Regions from separate parts of the Homo sapiens genome. Here region 2 is linked to region 1. Evidence: promoter capture Hi-C in human tissues and cell types (Jung and others, 2019). All regions are on one chromosome and are shown on one strand. Each heading gives the region's core, a stretch centred on a gene start or on the middle of the fragment in contact. The rest is flanking DNA. Distances are from core to core; before and after follow the strand shown.

Evidence for each region. Contacts are between HindIII fragments. The study calls those that stand out against the background at their distance.
Region 2: a fragment that was not itself captured here is called in contact with the fragment with the promoter of GTPBP4 in region 1 in 1 of the 25 tissues and cell types used here (dorsolateral prefrontal cortex).

The regions. Positions count from the first base shown.
Region 1 is chr10:987,063-991,087 of GRCh38, forward strand. It overlaps GTPBP4 (GTP binding protein 4), which reads left to right and starts at 1,372. Exons shown (of 17, transcript NM_012341.3): 1 at 1,372-1,465. The coding sequence starts at 1,418. It also overlaps a transcript of LARP4B not described here. RefSeq lists an enhancer at 3,119-4,014. The HindIII fragment of the contact is 8,297 bases long and covers 1-4,025 here.
Region 2 is chr10:454,722-458,707 of GRCh38, forward strand. All of the region lies in intron 3 of DIP2C (disco interacting protein 2 homolog C), which reads right to left. Among named protein-coding and RNA genes, the nearest start is that of DIP2C-AS2, 170 kb to the right of the region's middle. The HindIII fragment of the contact is 4,493 bases long and covers 1-3,986 here.

The DNA.
Region 1 (4,025 bases), core at 122-2,621:
GGAGAGGTTGAGGAAACATACAAGAACCTAAAAGAAAGGGCAATAAGTATGAGCATAGCTTTGCTAATCTCGGAAATGGTGGCCAGAACTGTCCTGTGGTTTAGCAAATGATCATAGCCAGCAAATCCTAATTACCCTAGAAGCTTCCTTTAGAAGTGCCACAAAGATGTAGGAGGTATGCTTATCCGCCTTGTGACACAAAAATGGAAGCATAGTTAATAGATGAGAAAAGCATGACCCAGAATGATTTTCAATATTGGAATGCTGGGAATTTATGAGAGGTATTTTCGCGTAAGAATAATAGGACTTGTTTAAAAGGATTGGAGAGTGGGGGGCATCCCAGATGCGTGAGAAGCAGTATAGCTAATGGTTAGAAGCAGGTTTGCTGGAGCCAGGCTGCCTGGGTTCAAAGCCCACCTCTGCTGCCTGTTAGCTTGTCAGCTGCACAACCACGGGGTGCTTTCGAGCCTTGTGTGCCTTTGTTTCCCCATGCACTTCATGAGGCTGTTGCAGAAATTAAACGAGTTAATATATAGTCAGCAGCTCTGAACACTGCTTGACTGAGTCAGCCCTACCTAACGTTTAATTTAAGGGATGTGGCCCTGGGTTCCCAAAGGGAGCGGCCACTCTATTCACAAACATAAAAGCAGTAAAGGCTCCATCCTCATCAACCTTCTCCTCAGTTGGACCCCACAGGACTGTCTCTCGCAACTGTTCCCTGGGCTCTCCTAAGGCACTGCGCGGAACCAGCTGCACCTCTTTTGCCTTAGATCAGGCTTTCCCTTCTCCGCCCGTTTTGGGATTTAACAAGCACGAGAAAGCAGGGCTGCAGGGAAGCCGCGAGGGCCTCCTCACCACGGCCCGGGATCAAGTCCCACGCGCGAGGCCGGGGTAGGGGCGTCATCTGCTCCACACCCAGAGGCTGGGCACGCCCCGCACGCGCGGCTTCCTCCTCCTTTGCGGGGCTCGCCGCGACCCAGGACCCCCAGACTCCCGGATCCCCTAGACCCTCTGGACTCCTAAGCCCCGCAACTCCCAAATCCCAAGACCCCGGACCCTCCAACCCTGGCCCAGGGCGCGTGGCTGGGGGCCTGAACCCGCTCCAGAAACCCGCAGGGCAGTCTGTCGGAAACCCCCGCTTTACTCAGCAGGAATTTAGTCTCCGCGCTCCCCCTAAAACCCGGGCGTCCTCTCCTCTGTACCCTCGCTCCTGAGGCCCTCACACGCCCTCCGTGGCTGACCTCCAAGCCGGGCGGGTGCGCTGTGCGACGCGGAAAGCGCCGTAGAGCACGCAGAACACGATTGGCTGAGCTCCCGGAAGTGACGTACCTCAACCGCCCGACAGTGGAAGTCCCACCTGCGCCCGACGGCGGAAGTTCCGGGAGTGCCAAGTACCCGCGTGCATACGGCTGCCGGCATGGCACATTACAACTTCAAGAAAATTACGGTGGTGCCGTCCGCCAAGGTAGGCGGCCCCGGGAGGGCCACTGCAACTTTCGCGTTCTCCTCAGCTGGGTCCCCGGGGAGGGTCCGGGCCTGTAGCCGTGGGAGAGCGGTCGCCTTCCGCTCGCCCATCCCCCGCTCCTGGGCCTGACCGTCTGGCCGCGTACTCGGGATCATTTCCCCTCCCCCAGCAGAATCCGGGGTCCACCAGAGATCGGATCCCCCAGAGACCGGGGTCCACCTAAGACCGTGGTCCACCCAAAGACTGAGGGCCCCCAGAGATGGGGGTACACCCAGAGTTGGGTTCCCTGGAGGGGCCCCGGGTGACGATGTGGGCGAGTGGAGGGGGACCCCGACATGTGAGGGAGGAAGCGTTCCGTGGTCCGTGATGAGCCTTCGGATTCTGGGTTTGGCGTAGCCCCCTCCCCTCTCAGGAATCCTGGGTTCGTTGTTCTCGTGATTTAACGTTTCATAATTTTTAAGTCATTCTCTTTCACTGTTAGATTTGGGAATACCTGTTCCTTTTCAGACCATAGTAGGCCCAGACTAAATTTTTACAGCGTTGGTTGGTGTGGCAAGAATGAGTCAACAAGTGTTGAGTATTAGGACTTTTTTTTTTTTTTTTTTTTTTTGAGACATAGTTTTTCGCTCTTGTTTCCCAGGCTGGAGCGCAGTCTCGGCTCACTGCAACCTCCACCTCCCGCGTTCAAGCGATTCTCCTGCTTCAGCCTCCCGAGTAACAGGGATTACAGTCGTGCACCACCACACCCAGCTAATTTTCGTATTTTTAGTAGAGACGGGGTTTCACCACGTTGGCCAAGCTGGCCTCGAACTCCTGATCCCGGGTGATCCTCCCGCCCCGGCCTCCCAAAGTGCTGGAATTACAGGCGTGAGCCACTGCGCCCGGCCCTAGTATTAGGACTTTTAAGAAGTCACGTTTTTATGTAGTGAACATTCGATTTGGGTCGCAATTACACAGACATTGACGGGCAACTGGAGCCTCCCAGGGACTCCTGCACGAGAGGGAGTTACTGAAGTCCCTGCAGAGTGACTGTTTTCCCCTCGTCAGTGCCTCCTTTTCTTCAGGTCTCAAGGACGGGATGAGCTTGCCTTGGAAAGCTTTGTGGGAGTCTCGTATTTTACCTTCATAGCAAAAGTTGTTTCCCCACTTCTCTCCACCATTTCTTATTTCTTCCTGACAGTTGTTCTGGCACATCTCTTGATCGATTGTAGTATTTTCTTTCTTTCTTTTTGAGATGGAGTCTCGCTCTGTTGGCCAGGTTGGAGCGCAGTGGTGTGATCCTGACTGCAGCCACCGCCTCCCAGGTTCAAGTGATTTTCCTGCCTCAGCCTCCCGAGTAGCTGGGACTACAGGCATGCGCCACCAGGCCTGGCTAATTTTTGTATTTTCAGTAGAAGTGGAGTTTCACCATGTTGGCCAGACTGGTCTTGAACTCCTAATCTCAAGTGATTCACTTGCCTCAGCCTCCCAAAGTGTTAGGATTACAGGCATGAGCTACTGTGCCCAGCCAGATTGTAGTATTTTCGAGTGCAGGAGTCATGTCTTATTTGTATTTTTGGTCAACCATCTCTCAGGTTTGTTGAAGGAATTTGCTCTTTGGATTATATGAACTTTGTTCATGTTATTGACTTATGTGGAGAACTTTAGAATATATTATACACCATCCGTCTTCTGTTCTGTGGAGTGAGATTTATATTTTTAGAGAACAGATGACTTATCTAAAAACTGGGTGATGGTAATTGTTTGGTGATTGGAAGTAAAAAAAAAAAATCACATCGGGAAAGTGTGGTATTCAGTTCATTCTAGAAGATGTTGAGTGAGTGCCTGTCCTGTGCATCGGGTACTGTGTTACAAAAATGCATTAGATAAAATACCTGCCTCTTTGGAAGTCATTTTCAAGAGAGGTAAGTCGAGGCCGGGTGCGGTGGCTCTCGCCTGTAATCCCAGCACTTTGGGAGGCTGAGGCGGGCAAATCACGAGGTCAGGAGATCGAGACCATCCTGGCTAACACGGTGAAACCCCGTCTCTACTAAAAATACAGAAAAATTAGCCAGGCGTGGTGGCGGGCGCCTGTAGTCCCAGCTGCTGGGGAGGCTGAGGCAGGAGAATGGTGTGAACTGAACCCAGGAGGCAGAGCTTGCAGTGAACCGAGATCGCGCCACTGCACTCCAGCCTGGGCAACAGAGCAAGACTCCATCTCAAAAAAAAAAAAAAAAAAAAGTGGGGTAAGTCATATCTCGTATGACCATACTAGAAATAAAACATTGTTATCATGGAGGACACACATGGATTGGGAGAGGAGAAGAGTGTGGTTAGCTGTGGTAAGTTGGAGAGTCAGGGGGAACCTTATGAAGTAGGTAACCTTTGACTTGGTCCCCCTTCAGGATGTGCGAACGGCATTAGGTGCAGAAGAACGTAGAGAAGATCTTGTGTGGGCCCAGAGGGGAGACCGTGTGTGCCCCTCATAGTACTTGGCAGACTGTTGTGACCACCCGTTTACTTGTCTCACTTGTAGGCCCAGAGGGGAGACAGTGTGTGCCCCTTATAGTACTTGGCAGAC
Region 2 (3,986 bases), core at 831-3,330, 530 kb before region 1:
CAGAGAAAGAGGTAGTATACAAACGCACCCTCTATGCTCGATGTCATTATTGCAATGAGATATTCGGGGGATAAAAACATGAGCACCCCTGGAACCCTCAGAGAAAGAGGTAGTATACAAATGCGCCCTTTATGCTTGAAGTCATTATTGCTGTTACTAGTATTCTAGATTACTATGTATATCCACAGCTTTAAATCTTTAGAAAAACCCATACCCTTCACTTCCATCTTTTGAAGTCATAAATCACAATCCATTTCCTAGAGCTCCTGCCATTTGCACCAAGCTCACAGCATTACACAGTGAGCACACACACAGCCTGGGGCTGCTGTCCAATGGCAAAGACAACCATGAGTCAACAGAAGAGAATGTTCCTCCAAGGTAGATACGTGGCTTCACAGCAGCAGAGCAGGAAGACGTAGGTTCGGGAGCCAGGCCGCACCGGTTCAAACCCCAGCTCCTCTGTGACCTTGGGCAAGTTGCTTAACCTATTTGCACCCCCATTTCCCTGGGTGCAAATCAGGAACAGTGAGTCCCTGCCTGAGGAGTGGCCCATGAGGAGTAAATGAGATGAAAACACTCTGCAGTGAGTCCCTGCCTGAGGGGAGACCGTGAGGAATAAATGAGATGAAAACACTGCAGTGAGTCCCTGCCTGAGGGGAGACCGTGAGGAGTAAATGAGATGAAAACACTCTGCAGTGAGTCCCTGCCTGAGGGGAGACCGTGAGGAGTAAATGAGATGAAAACACTCTGCAGTGAGTCCCTGCCTGAGGGGAGACCGTGAGGAGCAAATGAGATGAAAACACTCTGCAGTGAGTCCCTGCCTGAGGGGAGGCCGTGAGGAGCAAATGAGATGAAAACACTCTGCAGTGAGTCCCTGCCTGAGGGGAGGCCGTGAGGAGCAAATGAGATGAAAACACTCTGCAGTGAGTCCCTGCCTGAGGGGAGACCGTGAGGAATAAATGAGATGAAAACACTCTGCAGTGAGTCCCTGCCTGAGGGGAGACCGTGAGGAATAAATGAGATGAAAACACTCTGCAGTGAGTCCCTGCCTGAGGGGAGGCCGTGAGGAGTAAATGAGATGAAAACACTCTGCAGTGAGTCCCTGCCTGAGGGGAGGCCGTGAGGAGTAAATGAGATGAAAACACTCTGCAGTGAGTCCCTGCCTGAGGGGAGGCCGTGAGGAGTAAATGAGATGAAAACACTCTGCAGTGAGTCCCTGCCTGAGGGGAGGCCGTGAGGAGCAAATGAGATGAAAACACTCTGCAGTGAGTCCCTGCCTGAGGGGAGACTGTGAGGAATAAATGAGATGAAAACACTCTGCAGTGAGTCCCTGCCTGAGGGGAGACTGTGAGGAATAAATGAGATGAAAACACTCTGCAGTGAGTCCCTGCCTGAGGGGAGGCCGTGAGGAGTAAATGAGATGAAAACACTCTGCAGTGAGTCCCTGCCTGAGGGGAGACTGTGAGGAGTAAATGAGATGAAAACACTCTGCAGTGAGTCCCTGCCTGAGGGGAGGCCGTGAGGAGTAAATGAGATGAAAACACTCTGCAGTGAGTCCCTGCCTGAGGGGAGGCCATGAGGAGTAAATGAGATGAAAACACTCTGCAGTGAGTCCCTGCCTGAGGGGAGGCCGTGAGGAGTAAATGAGATGAGAACACTCTGCAGTGAGTCCCTGCCTGAGGGGAGGCTGTGAGGAGTAAATGAGATGAAAACACTCTGCAGTGAGTCCCTGCCTGAGGGGAGACTGTGAGGAGTAAATGAGTGACTGAATCAAAGCACTCACAGCGGAGCTGCCTCCTGGTGATTAAAACACTCTGCAAGTGCAAGAGCTTAAGATGCTCCTCCTGGTTAGTGTGACCCAAGTCTGGAAAGAGGACAGAGAAGAAAGCCAAGCCTGGGAGAAGCCAAAACTGTGCAAGAGGCCAGACGAGACAGGCTGCATGGAATTCCACCTGTCCACGGCCACCGTTTGTCTCCACTACACAGGGCCATCTGTGTTCCCTCCCTTTTGTCTCCACTACATAGGGCCATCTGTGTTCCCTTCCACGACGATTTTTGTTCCACCGTTTCGTTCTTTGGTAAACTGCACACAAAAGCAGAGGTGTGGAGAGTTGTGCAAAATGGTCAAGACAGAGTGAAGGCAAGAAGATTTTATTTTATCCTCACTCATTCCTTCTCTAAGTCTTTTCTTCATGTGGACTGGATTCTCTGACCTGCCATGTCCAGGCTATTGATGGGCCCAGCAAAAACATACTTCATTTCTCTTACAGTGTTTATTTCTAGCATTGCCTTTTGATTCCTAGATTTTCCATCTCTCTGCTCACATATCCACCTCCAATTACGGCACAATGGTTTGAGGTTATAATCTCAATTCTTTGACAGATCTAGGAGGAGTTGCTTATTTTCGGTTTGTACAGCTTTTTGCTCAAGAGGACAAGCGTGATGACTTCCAAGCTCCTTAGGTGCTGGACTGGAAGCTACAAGTCTATGCATCTCCTATTTTATTTTATTCTTTTTATTATTGTCTCACTTCTCCCTTCTGTGGACTTAATTTTTTCTAACATGTTAAGATAAATGCTTATTTCTTCAGTTTCCAAGATGTCTTCTGACTTAATATAAAGATTTTAGTCTATAAATTCAAGTACCATTTCCACAGCATCTCACAAATTTTGATTCATCATTTTTCACCTGAAATACAACAGCCCCCTAACCTGTTTCTGCCTTCAGTCAGGAACCCAATCCAATGAAACCAATCTATCCTATATATTTCTGCTACATTGATATGTCCAAAATTCCCTCTTTAGAAATGACGAGGCACAGATAGCAAGATTAAATTCTTTTTTTTCTTTTTAGAGGCAGGGTCTCACTCTGTCACCCAGAGTGGGGTGCAGTGATGTGACAACAGCTCACTGCAGCCTCCAGCTCCTAGGTTGAAGTGATCCTTCCACCTCAGCCCCCTGGGTAGCTGGGACCACAGGTGTGTGGCCACCACACCCGGCTAGTCTTTCATCGTTTGTAGAGATGGGCTCTGACTTTGTCACCCAGGCTGGTCTCGAACTCCTGTCTTCAAGCTCTCCTCCACCTCGGCCTCCCAAAGTGCTGGCATTACAGGCGTGAGCCACTGCACCTGGCCAAAAGTCACTTTCTGTAGTGTGGGACATCTTTATGCTGCGTCCTCAGCTGTGCCTGTGGCCTCTCCTCCCACAGCTGCGGCCCCAGAGCAGCACGTGATGGGGACTGTCTGCAGGTCTGGCAACAGTCCCACCCACACCATCCAGCATGAGAGCCGCCCAGCCACCCGCCCGAAAGTGCAGTGATGAAGCAGGAGGATGATTTTATATATCATCTTAACACATTTAAATGTAAAAGGCCCCACAAGGCTACTGCCCTCATACTGGACAGGGCAGCTCCCACCAGACAGAGCCTGTCACCTCCTCTGGGGACATCACAGTGGCTACACAGTCCTACTTGGCCGCACTGTAGGCCGCCTTCTCTCCTAGCATCATTCTGATGTAAATAAGGAAGTAACACTATGTGTATTGGAATCAATGAGAAAATTGAGTTGTTCAGAGAGAACACAGGTCACAGGACAGGAACCTCATCAAAATCAGTAAATCCAGACTGACTCAGGAAAGATAAACCTTCTCAGTCTAGAAAATTAAACTTCGGCATAGAGGAGGAACTTATACGGTGACCCCCATGATGGCAGATGACCCCGTGACAGCAAGGAGGATGCCCTCTACATTCCTGCCTCACCGGCAGCGCGTGACAGAGTGCTTGGAACCTGTGACGGCAAGGATGCCCTCTACATTCCTGCGTCACCGGCAGCGTGTGACGGAGTGCTCAGAACCCGTGACGGCAAGGAGGATGTCCTCTACATTCCTGCCTCACTGGCAGCACACAGCAGAGTGCTCGGAACCCCGTGACAGCAAGGAGGATGTCCTCTACATTCCTGCCTCACCAGCAGCGCATGGCAGAGTGCTCGG